Linked DNA regions of Homo sapiens: region 2 is linked to region 1. Evidence: promoter capture Hi-C in 16 types of primary human blood cells and fetal thymus (Javierre and others, 2016). All regions are on one chromosome and are shown on one strand. The core of a region is centred on a gene start or on the middle of the fragment in contact, and the rest is flanking DNA. Distances in the headings are between cores, read along the strand shown.

Region 1 (6,875 bases), core at 1,557-4,056:
TACTCATTCTGCATTTTTTCAACCCTTTTCAAAATCTAGTGGCTCATAAATGTAAGGGTTTAGTTTGTGGACACAATTCTGTTCCATTGATCTTTCTATCTATTGCTATGCCAGTACCACATTGTCTTGTTTATTGTAATTTTGCAGTAAATTTTGAAATTGGTAAGTTTGTTCTTTTTCAGAATTGTCTTGACTATTCTGGGCCCCTCGCACTGCTACATGTTTTTAGGATAACTCCATTCATTTCTGCAATAAAAGCTTGCTGGGTTTTGATAGAGATTTTGTTTAACCTGTAGATCATTTGAAGATTAATGCCATTGTAACGATATTAAATCTTTCAATCCAAGAACATGGAATGTCATTCCATTTATTTAGGTCTACCTTATTTCAACAATTCTTTTTGTTTGTTTTCAGACTACAAGTTTTAGATCCTTTTGTTAAATTTATTTCTTAGGGTTTTTTTTGTTTTGTTTTGTTTTGTTGGTTGGTTGGTTTGTTTTGAGATGGAGTCTCACTCTGTCACCCAGGCTGGAGTGCAGTGGCACAATCTCAGCTCACAGCAACCTCTACCTCCTGGGTTCAAGCGATTCTTCTGCCTCAGCCTCCTCCTCCTGAGTAGCTGGAACTACAGGCATGCACCACCACGCCTGGCTTTTTTTTTTTTTTTTTCTTTTGCATTTTTAGTAGAGACAGGGTTTCACGATGTTGGCCAGCCTGGTCTCGAATCCCTGACCTTGTGATTCACCCACCTCGGCCTCCCAAAGTGCTGAGATTACAGGAGTGAGCCACTACACCAGGTCATTTCTTAGTATTTTTACTCTTTTGATCTATAGTAAGTAAAATTGTTTTTATCTTTGAATTTTTAAATTTTTAACACAGTTCAAATCAGTGTGTCTGATTTCATCTCCTTCTCTAACAAACCAGGGTGCCAGAACTGCTTCAGTTTCTCTGCCTTCTCTTTGTCTATGATGACTAATGTATGAAGGTATCTGCTGCATCAAACTTTAAACTTCACATTATCCTTATTTCTCTTGACCTTGACAGATCTGGCATCTTTTCACCTGGCTGTAAGCAGAAAGTCCTTGATCTCCTTAACTTTTTGAGGCATGGCAGCATGTGAGGCAGGGAGAGGACACAGACCCACACAGCAAGTGGTGAGAAGCCAACAGTGGAATTGTTTTCTTAATTCCATTTGTTGATTGTTTATTGCTAGTGTATAGAAATACAACTGATTTTTGTATATTGATCTTGTATTCTAAAAACTTGCTCAACTTGTTTCTTAGTTCTAATAGTTAATTAATTGATTCCTTAGGGCTTTTTAATACAAGATCATGTCATCTACAAATAGAAATTGTTTTACTTTCTTTCTAATCTGGATGCCATTTATCTTTTTTTCTTGTCCAATTGCCCTCACTAGAACCTTTAGTACAAAGTTAAATAGAAATGGGAAGACTAGACATTTTGTCTTGTTCCTGATCTTAGACATAAAAACGTTGTCTTCCGTTATTATGTGTGATATTAGTTAAGTTTTTCATAAATAAACTTCACAGTTTGAGGAAGTTCCTATTCCTAGTTTGTTGAGTGTTAGCATGAAAAAGTGTTGAATTTTGTCCAATAGTTTTTAAAAATTTTTTTAGACAATCATGTAGGCTTTGTCCATTTTTTACTTCTTTAAATTTATTTTTATTGATACACAATAGATGTACACTTTTTAGGTACATGCAATAATTTAATGCCCCTCACTATAAATTCGGAGCTGCCTCCTCGCCGATGATTCCAGCGCCTGACAGCCAGGACCCCAGGCAGCAGCGAGTGACAGGACTTTTTAGGTACATGCAATAATTTAATGCATTCATATAAAGATCAAATCAGTGCAATTGGCATATCCATCACCTTAAATATTTGTCTTTTCTTCATGCTAGAAACATTCAAGTTATTTTCTCCTAGCTACTCTGAAATATACAATAGATTACTGTAAACTACAGTCACCCTACTCACCTATCTAACATTAATTGATTTTTGGTAAACTAATCTAATCTTGCTTTCTGGCATCAACCTCACTTGACCATGGTGTATAGTCCCTTTCATATGTTATTGGATTCAATTTGCCTACATTTTGTTGAGAATTTTTATCTATACTCTTAAGAAATATTGATCTGTAGTCTCGTGATGTCTTTATCTGGTTTTGTTATCAGGGTGATACTGGCCTCATAGCATGAGTTGGGAGATCATCCTTACTCTTCTATTTTTTGGAAGAGTTTGTGAAGAATTGATATTATTTCTTCTTTAAATATTTATTGGGTTTTTAAAATACATTTTTAAAATGCAACTTGGGTAGCATGTCCAATAGGAACAAATGAGTGTCCACCCTTGAATTTCATAACCCTGGAATTAATCCATGTAATCTATGATCCACAACTGTATTACCAAAGTTCGAGTTACTCATAGGAAAGAGAAAGAAGTTCTCTAATTCGTCCTTAAAAGTTTTCCAAGTTCAGAAAAAAAAAATGTTGAAGAACACGAATCTCCGCAGGAAATGATACTCCTGTACCCCCAGCTCGCTCTCCCTCACGACCCCTCGCTAGGCGGGGTTCGGGACCAGGTGAACGCTGATCTGATAGTTGACACGGGACGACTGTGGCATCATCCTTGCTGCCGTCAATATCCCGAGAGGGAGGAGGTTGGGCCGGGAGGGTCTCCCGGGGCGGGGCGGAGGAGGAGGGAATGCAAAACAGAGCCTCGTCCCCGGAACCCAAGAAGCAGCAACGCCCCTCACTATAAATTCGGAGCTGCCTCCTCGCCAATGATTCCAGCGCCTGACAGCCAGGACCCCAGGCAGCAGCGAGTGACAGGACGTCTGGACCGGCGCGCCGCTAGCAGCTCTGCCGGGCCGCGGCGGTGATCGATGGGGAGCGGCTGGAGCGGACCCAGCGAGTGAGGGCGCACAGCCGGGACGCCGAGGCGGCGGGCGGGAGACCCGCACCAGCGCAGCCGGCCCTCGGCGGGACGTGACGCAGCGCCCGGGGCGCGGGTGAGTCCGCGCGGACCGCCAGGCATGCTTGGGGGACTTCAAGGGCGGGGTGCTAAGTTTCATGTCACGGTGTCCTAACTGCTGGCTCTATACTGGGAAGCTCTCGGGGACCAAGGAAAGAGCGACCGTAGTTCTGGTCAGCGCCTGCCCCTGGAGCTGGCCACACTTTCCCAAATCAGGTGAGGGGCTTCTGGAATGGGAGGGAACAAGGTAGGTTTGTTTGCCACGTGCCTCGAAATTCTCAATCCATTTTAACCAAACTCTTCCGAGTGCAAGGAAGAAATCTACAGAAATAAGATGCAATTCAATAAACTTTCTTCCTGAGGCTTTTAGTTAACTCTTGTATTTTAGCCATCATCTGAGCGGGAAGCCGGTATGACTCTGCAAGGCGTTCGTTTAAAAGTTGTGCTACTTTTGAGGTGAAGTTAAGAGTGTCTCCATCCACGCCCTCTGCTTCCCAGTCAATGTCCCTGCACTGCTCACGTCCCTTTAGCTCTCTCCCTGCAAACCATAGCGGTGGGTCCTAGACACGGGACATCGCTCCAACCTTGGCCAAACTCTCCCACCCTCAGGGTTCCCAGATGTCCTTTGAATAATCAAACTGAGGAAGGAGAAGCAAGATGTCTCCACACCCCAATCCCTACAGCCTTAGCCAATGCATGTGTGTAACTGAGACAGAATTTTAGCAAAAGGTCTCCTGCTTCCAGGACTAAACAGAGCCTCTGGCAGGCCACTGCCCGACACCCAACTCCATCCTCCAATTTTCTTAAATGTCCAGGTAAACATCTCCATAGTGCCAGCCTGCTATAGTCTCCCGAAGACCTCAGCAATTCTTCCCCAAAGCGTCTCCTTCTGCACCGTTTTTTTCTTTGGGCAACCATTTGTGACCTGGCTATTGAGCCCACCTGGGCCTCTTCTCTTTGTTTGCTGATAGCCTCGTTAAGTATTAAAAACCTACTCCCCCCCTTCAGGAGCCCTCTTTTAATGAAAGTTTGGGTACTGGGATCAGATTTGGGACTTGGCTACATTTATTTCCTGTGTCATTCTGAGAAGAGAAAGTAATAGAGGCAAGAAATTTGGCACCCTATTGATCTATTTTATTACTTTGTTGAGCAACTTGTGCTTCCCGCTGAAGATGCTGCATCCCAACATGATTCTCTTATTATTAGTTACCACCTGAGGGTTTTGGATCTCCAGGTGTTTATTTCACATAGCATATGCTTTAACCCCCTTATAAGTCTTCTCTAAGGAAGAAACTGCCATACTTCCCTTGTCTTCTCCGGTGTTTCCCTAGCTATAAAGGCCCCACCTGCATAACCTGTCCTCAGGCTGTGATGTATTCCCGGGTGCCCTGGTACCTTCTCCTTCCTCTCCACCACCCTTCCTGACAGTGCAGGGGCAGGAAAGCATGGGGAGAAGGGAAATGGAGACTCCCACTTAACTTGCTGTGTGATAGTAAGAGCATTATTTCACAACTCTGAACCTCAAGTCTCTGCCCATAAGGTTCCCTCCAGTGATATAATTCCTTAATTTCTTTTGTTTTGGTTATTGCTTTAAAATAAAAGTCTAAGCTTAAGGCTAGGTTATAGAAACTGCCCATCATAATTGCTAGGTCTCAACATTTGCTTAAGTTTTGTGATTCTTAGTTTCAAGTCTGTTACCCACTCTCTCTCCCCGCCACCTTTTTTCCCCCTGACTTCATTGTTCTTTGTTCCCATCCTGAGGCCTTGATTTCTGGTTCTGCTCTTCTTTGACCTTAAACTGAATCAACTCTTCCATCATCCAACTCAGAATAAAATTGGTTTTCTTCCACCGGTTCCACTGATGCCAATGGAAGACTTGTCTTCCTTGCGATTTGCAAAATGTCTTTCAGTCACAGGTGCTGCGGCAATGCTGCTGTCCCACAGCATTCTAAGCTTCAGTCTTTCTCTCTCTTATCGTGGGTCAGTATTCAGAAAAGGGCAGATTTGTGGGTTGTTCAGGTTTCTCACTTTTCTTTTTCTTCTTTCTAGTTTGGGATCAGAGTTGTGTGAGTATTTGTGTATATAATTTTGTTTTGGTTTTTTGTTCCTGCTGCTACTTACGACTGCTGTTATTATTTCAATTATGACTAATTAATACTAATGACTAATTTTCCCCTATGCTAGAGGGAAAATAAGGAAGAAAAGTTTACTCTGCTACTTACCCAAAGCCCAGGTAAAATGCTTAGCTGAGAAGGAATTTAAAACTCATAGTTTAAATGCATGATGCATGTCTGCTGTCATTTTATCTGTGCTGCCACAGTGTCCTTTCAAGCAGATAACTGAGAGTTGCTGTATTTTGCTTTCGAATTTGTTACAGGGACAAAAATAGTGACCCCTCACATTTAGGTGTTTTGGCTGCTTAATGCGAGCTCCTGCCCTCTAGCCGCATGCTTATTAGTTTACCTAGCCCTTTTTCTGGTCAGTCATGACTGGAGAATGCCAAAGAGTCTCCCAAGTAGGCTACCAAATTAAGAATTGTGTTTAGAAGTTTGAAGTCAGTCCAAGTGTTGTAAAGATTAAAACGTTGTTTTGAAGATATGCTGTGTCAATAAACAAATATGGAGCCAGAGCAACACAATGTGACCAAGTGTCCAAGCCCAGCTTAGGAACACTTTTCTCCCATGTTATCTAGCAAACTGACAAATCAGCTTTCCAACACGTGATGATTGGAAAATGCTATTAGTTTCCTTCAAAATTCTCCTAATGTTTCTTTTTCAAAATTGCCTAAGATCATTGGATTATGTGGTTTGTGTTTCTTTTCACTGTAGCTGCTTGTTAAAGCAGTATACTCAATCTCTGATAAGCAACAGTAAATTTGATCGATTTGTATCCTAAATTTAGCTATCACTTTACATTTTGTTTTATTCATAATATGAACTTTAGCTTCTAAAAATCAACTTTTTAATAGCTTAATATATAAAGCCATCTTAAATCAAGGAATATCTATAGGGACTTAAGGTAATATTCAACTAAATTGGCAAGTGACTACCATTATCCTATTAAAGCTCTAAAATGCAATATTTCAATCACAGAAAAAAAATCTTATAATTTAAAGAACTATAAATTGCCAGATGTTTCCCTAGTTATTACGTTAGTGACAAATTAGACAACTGGAAATAGAAAACAGAGTATATGTTTGGAACAGTCATAAAAGGACTAGTGACTATTGCTGCTAGCTGTGGTTGTATTAACATTAAAATATTTGCTATGGGATTTTTCTTCTTATCAAAGCAGATGCTCAGATGAGGAAAAACTTTCTTGCATATGAAAATCAAAATTGTCTTCCAAAATATTTAAGTAACAAAAAATTCATTATGTAGTATAAATGCTGTATGATTACATTATTCTTATAGTTAATTTAGAAGGGTTTGAATTTGTTTTTGTTTTGTTTGTGTTTGTTTCTTCGATAGGTGCATTCTCTAACTGTCTTAAGTAGAAACAAATGTCTAGAATCTCTCAGTGATTATCAGTCTCCTTCCTATTACCAAGAATGTTTTTATTGTGTTGTTAATCTCACATGTAATTTTTTTAACATTTAAAAGTTTGGAAAATGGGTAAAAAATGAGTGTGCCTTGTTTCCTATTATTACAATGTGCCTTCCTATTTCAAGTCCCAATTCTAGATTTCCTTAAAACTTAAAATCATAGAATTAATAATCTTTCAGTTTAAGTCAACTTTTGTGTGATTTCTTGTCCACTTATACACACATAGATGCCTTCATCTTCACCAAATAATGTAGAAATTTTATTTAGTTCAATGGATTTAAGTACTCTGTATGCTTAAGTACAAAATAAGAATATTGAGAAATACACATATGATTG
Region 2 (6,353 bases), core at 262-2,761, 320 kb before region 1:
TTTCTGTAAACTGATCAGACTTTTTCCAGACAAAACTGCCAGATTGACCTCCAAATAAATGATTAGAACAACTTTGACTCTCCTTCAGCTAACCAGTCTATTATTATTTATTTATTTCATTTTGCTTCCTACGTATGAACATATATAATATATCGTTGTATAGTTATATTAATATGTTTACCTGTTGGTAAATCTCTAATTTCATCCTTCCTGTAGAAAAACCTTGACAATGTAATTTGAAAATGTGACATGCAGTTAACCACATTTAAATAATCCTCCTTATGACTGAACAGGAAACAGGCCAATGCCATATTCCATTTAATGATATTTTTAAGGGAAGAATAACTATAGCTTCAAATATGGATATATATGTACACATATATGTGCATCTACATATAACACAAAAATATACAAATTATAAATATCTATAAATATTCCTGGAAAGAGCTAAAGGCAGGATTCTAGCATTACATAATTTCACATATGCCAAATCCTCTAATCAAATGGAATCTGATTATTTATGCTGCCAGGTAGTTATATATTTCTTTCTAATACTTCTCAAGGAAACTTTCCATAGCTGTCTTAAATTTCTCAAGGACATTGATCTCAAAATAATCTCAACCTCTATTCTTCTATTCTGAATCTTATGAAAGCATTTATCTTGTTTATAAATAGCTAAAAACTTCTTAAGAAATCAGACTGGAAGAGGTTGCATATATTTCAAACATTTTAAAATCACAAAACAAAACCAGTAAGTCAAGAAAATAGACAAGAAAAGATTCCATTTGTTTTAAAGTGTGTTCTAAAATCATATCACTAATGAAAGTCTGCTGATGTCATGACAATGTCATAGCTTCAGCTCTTCAAAGAACATGTTGTCTGGTTACTATAGCATTGCTATATTTGGATTAATTAGAAACGGAAACGTGGATAGCATTAGCTTTGAAATTAAATGAGCCCCCTAACGGGGAAGCTAATTACTGAATTCATTCTGAAGATCTGTTTTACTCGTGAAAATTTAGGTTATTAAATTGAACAATATGTGCTCAGGACTAGAAATGGAAATCAGGGCATCCTCGGACGGAGCACAGGGGAACCAGTGGCTCTTATGGAGCCAGACCTGATATTAGTCTTTTGTTAGAGAGGATTATTATTGTTAATATTGTCACCTTTATGACAAAGGTTCTAATATGAAGAGTACTTGGAATTCTTAAAAAGCTTCCATTAGTCCATTCAATACCCTACTCTGACTTCCATTAATGTATCTTCCCTACTGTGTGATTAGGAAGCTCCACCGGAAGCCATAATCTGGATGCATTGGGGAAGATTTAGGGAGGAAACTTTTCCATAAGCTTGAAAGACAAAAATGGCATTTATCTGGGTTTCAAATGTTTCTTCTCCTTGAGGTTTCGTTTTCTGAATTAAAGTTTGAAGTGAACATACTATATATTCACAGTATTGTGCTTTTCAAATGTCCCCCTCACACAAACATACATACAAACACAGCAAAGATAGCAGGAGGCAGGTTATGGTCAGAGAAAATTCAGCTCCCTTTGTTATGCTATTTAAGTAATCGTTAAGTACATTACTAATATCCATGGCCATTTTTAAAACCAAGTAGCAATAACTAGTTTATCTCACTAAAGCACCAAGATCCTTAGGAACCAGAAAGAAGCTTTTCAGCATCACATCCAATATGCCCCTAATACTTAGTAAAGGCTGATATGATGATGCAGATCTTTTGATCACTTTTGGGATTAAGATCCAAGTTATGTTACTAAATCCCAATTCAATAAGGCAGTGCGGAAGATGCTGACCTAGCAGGGTCTTTATAACTGAAAGCCAGTGTTTGGTTTTATTGACAGAACTTTGTGCTAAAGACATGGAGTTTCCCAGCTACTTCAGGGTTATCCCAGTTACCTGTTCTCTCTCCACCTCCCACAGACTATATTGTGATAATCTCTAGAATTATCCCCAAAAGGAAGAAATAAAACATCTGCTTGGTGTATTCCTTATCAATCTTTATTCTATACTTCTCTTTCTGGATTCTCCATGATTCAGAGCACCTCCAGCCATATTCCAGCTGTGTGGTGCAAAGGACCCAGGCATTGTTTTAAAAATTCTTGAATCATAATGAACTAATAAGGTCCTCAATATAGCATATTTCTCTCATTGTTTAGGTGAGTTAAATTATTTGTAAGTTACAAAAGCCATGCATCTTTCTTGTTTTACTCCAAACATCATATTGGCACTTCATAATAGAAAAATTGAAAGTTGGCTATGTGGTAATATACTTTTTATCATAGACTTGTGTAATACTGTATTAATATATAACAAGTCCATGTAACATCTTTATTTTGTCTAAGAAATAAGTCTAGAGAAATGAGTGATTTATTTTTATAGAAACTGCATCCAAGAACTGCAGAGTTTTCAGCCCCAGAAACAAGAAAACAAGAACCTTATCAAGATATGGGTGCTGTAATGGGCTAGATTTTTCTTTAAAAAGAAAGAAAAAAGGAATAGGGAAGGTGTACGCAGTCTTGCAAATGAGGCAAGAACTGTTCTACAGAGTCAGGAGAGAGTCGAAATAAGGATGCCTGATGCTGAGTTGCAGAATCATTAGACTGTTACTCCTTATCTTCTTTCTGCCTGTGAATAATTTCAATGACCAGTACGTAGTAATGACATTGCGTATGTATACATGATAATATATTATGCAGTAATTTAAAATATGTTGGAAGTGTTGTGCCATTGGAAAAATTGCTGAAGGGGTAATGTTATAAAAAAGGCTTAGTGCAAGAAAATAAGATAGGTGATATAATATCAACTATATGAAACGTTTAGATAAGTAACAAAACTAGAAGAAAATATGTCAAAATGTTAAGAGAGGTTAGGATTTTAGGTAGTAACTTAAGGCCCTATATGTCTGGCCACCTGTAATTCTCTGAGATCATCTTTTACTATTGCTTCACTCCCCATCCCCCACAACAGTATCCTGCTCCAGCCACAGTACTGTTCTTCTTCTTATTGTTATTAAGTTCTGCGGTACATGTGCAAAACGTGCAGTTTTGTTCCATAGGTATACACGTGCCATGGTGGTTTGCTGCACCCATCAACCTGTCATCTACACTAGGTATTTCTCCTAATGTTATCCCTCCCCCAGCTCCCCACCATCTGACAGGCCCCGGTGTGTGATGTTCCCCTCCCTATGTCCATGTGTTCTCATTGTTCAACTCCCACTTATAAGTGAGAAGATGTGGTGCTTGGTTTTCTGTTCTTGTAATAGTTTGCTGAGAATGATGGTTTCCAGCTTCATCCACGTCCCTGCAAAAGACATGAACTCATTCTTTTTTATGGCTGCATAGTATTCCATGGTGTATATGTGCCATGTTTTCTTTATCCAATCTATTATTAATGAGCATTTGGGTTGGTTCCAAGTCTTTGCTATTATCAATAGTGCCACAATAAATGCTATATAAAATTACATCCACACTTTATTTTTCTCCATAGCTGTTACCATTACCTGACATAACTTACCAACGTAGGGATTGCTTTTTGCTAGTATTTCCCAAGAAAACAGAATGATTGCTTAGAAAGGGAGAGAAGAGGAAGCTGAGGGTGTATGTTAGAAAGTGATGGAATTTAGGCTAATAAGAAAGGAAAGAAGAATATTTGGGAGAGGCAGAGATGTCAGGCAGAACAATCACTGGATTATACATCACAAAAATTTTGAGGATCAGGGAACCAGGATAAATAAGCCTGGAAAAATAAGAAGTACTAGTCAAGAATGTTGTTGTTTGTTTTGTTTTGTTTTGTTTGCTTTGGAAGTGAGAATTGTGGAGGGATTGCAACTACTGTCTGGTGTCATTTCCTTACCTTTATAGACACCCTGCCTAATGGGTTTTGGACTGAATTATTCAGGAGGGGAAAAGAAAAAAAGGGGTAGAGGATATTCCACTCTTACTATTTTGATGTATATAATTAGCAGGCTCTGTCTAGATAAGTATGCACCTATAGTAACTTCCTTTTGAAAAAATAAAAATCAGATCTAATGGAACATTTGCAAACTGCTTTTCTTGCACTCAGTAATGTGTCATGGACATTATTTCATGTTAAAAAATATAGATATATATTTTTAAAACTATATAATATTTCACTACTTGTAGAGACCATAATATAGTTAACCAGTAACTGATTGTTGAGCATTCATATTGTTTTTCTCACACTTTAATAGACAAAGTAAAATCTGTATATACTTGATTTCTATTTTGCATACTTGTTGCTATGGGTTTGAATATATTACCTCCAAAATCAGGTGTTGCCAATGTGAAAGTATTAAGAGGTAGAGTCTGTAAGAGGTGATTAGGTCATGAGGGTTCGTCCCTCATGAATGGGATTAAGACCCTTTTAAAGGATCTTTGCAGAGTGCTTGGTAGCTTACCCTTCCACCTTCCACCAGATGAGGACACAATGTTTCTTCCATCTGGAGAATGCAACTCTCACCAGTCGAACCTGCCACCATCTTGATCTTACACTTCCCAGCATCCAGAACTGTGAGAAATGAATTTTTGTTTTTTATAAACTACCCAGTTTGTGACAGTCTGTTATAATAGCACAAAACAGACTAAGACACATGTTTACATCCTTTGGGTAAACTTTTAGGAGTGGAATTATATAGCAAAAGACCATTAGATTTTAAATGTTGATATTAATTTACTGAACAAGCATTTATTAAGAATTTGCAATGTTTCTCAGGCACTATTGTAGTCTTTTTGAATATGGCAATAATCAAAACAGAAAAGAATGGCAGCTTTTATGAAGCTAATGTACTGGTACAAATATAGTTGAGATGATTCAATCAACTTATATTTCCACCAACACTGTATCAAAGTATCCATTTCCTCTTATCTTCACTAACTTCACTGGCTATTTCAAAACTTTAATACTTTTGGCTAATCAATTTTTTTCTTATTTTAATTGTTTCAATAATTTGCACTATTTGATTACTAGAAAAGTTAGACATGTGATAGGCTTATTAGTCATTGTATTTCTACTTCTACATTACATTTTTGTGCTGTTTGCTCTTTTTTTCCCTATTTGGTTATTTTTTCCTTATTTGATTTACAAAAGGTTTTCAAATGAAAAGAAATATAAACTTCTTAGTAGAGAATAATTGTTCAGGCTGCCGAAAAAATAAATATCCTTTCTAATATGAGAGAATTCCATGCTGCCTCCCACTCAGGAAGCCAAATAAGACATGCCATTTTCTCTCTCCAACCTAGTATAGCAAGTACATTGGAGTCAAATGCCCTAAGGATGGCCAATCAGATGCTTCTGTGGGGGATATTGAATCTAGAGGAGGTAATTCAATACAGAGAGTCTTTTAGAAATAATTTGAGATACCTGTGTTAAATAAAAAGCCCCAAAGCTTCCCCATGAACTCTTAGTGAAAATATGCCATTTTGGTACAGTGCCTTTGCTGTACTTGTTCCATCTTGCTTCTAATTAAACTTGCTTCTCAAGCCTTCCTGTTGGTTCTGTGAGCAACTCCCAAAACAACCTTTAGGCTAATGTTAACCAGTAATTTTCTGTTGTTTTGTAACTAGCAACATTATTAGAATAGGTGTTTCATAAATATATATTTCCAGCATAATTTTTCTAATATTTTGTAGTGTATTTGCCAAACACAATGTATTAATTTGTACTTAATCAGGTATATCAATATTTTACTCTGTGTATTCTACCATTGACATGTGCTTAGAGGGCTTCTGAATATCAAAATTATAAAAATATTCATCTATTATATTTTCTAGTATTTAAATTACATCATTAATATATGTGGAATTTATGCTTATACAAGGCATAAGAGCTTTATTTGTTTTCTTTATTTTGGTTCTCAAATATGTATCCAATTGCCTCTCACTTTTTTTTTTTTTTTTGTATAACCAGAACCTTGCTCAGTGATTCAAAAACTACTCTTGTCAGATATTTAATTCTTCTGCTAATTTGTAGAGACTTTGTTCTTTTTAATTGATCTGTCCATTCTTGGATTCTCATTACAGTTTCAATCAATCTAGTTTAAATGACACTTTCATATTTGATAAGGTTAGTCCCCTTCATTACACATCTTTTTCAGAATTTGGCTGGATATTTTTGTCCACTTATTTTTCAGGATATATTTTATAAATTTTTCAATTAAAAACCCTTTGTAATTTTGATTGCTGTTATACAAAATACACAGGCTAATTGGGAAAAATTCGTCAACGAAATATTTCTAGCCAAGACCATGTGATATTTCTTACTTACTTACCATTTTTTATGATCACCAGTATTTTGTTTTTATGTATGCTTTG

The links. The method cuts DNA at HindIII sites, captures the fragments that hold promoters and counts their contacts. A CHiCAGO score of 5 or more calls a contact.
Region 2: a fragment that was not itself captured here is called in contact with the fragment with the promoter of AGTR1 in region 1 in 1 of 17 cell types (megakaryocytes); the score reaches 7.8 in megakaryocytes.

What each region holds. Positions count from the first base shown.
Region 1 is chr3:148,695,097-148,701,971 of GRCh38, forward strand. AGTR1 (angiotensin II receptor type 1) reads left to right here and starts at 2,807. Exons shown (of 3, transcript NM_000685.5): 1 at 2,807-3,031. It also overlaps the pseudogene RPL38P1. The HindIII fragment of the contact is 4,344 bases long and covers 257-4,600 here.
Region 2 is chr3:148,380,319-148,386,671 of GRCh38, forward strand. All of the region lies in intron 4 of LINC02046 (long intergenic non-protein coding RNA 2046), which reads left to right. It overlaps LOC105374147 (a long non-coding RNA gene), which reads right to left. Exons shown (of 4, transcript XR_924566.2): 4 at 3,524-4,551. Among named protein-coding and RNA genes, the nearest start is that of LINC02046, 100 kb to the left of the region's middle. The HindIII fragment of the contact is 323 bases long and covers 1,351-1,673 here.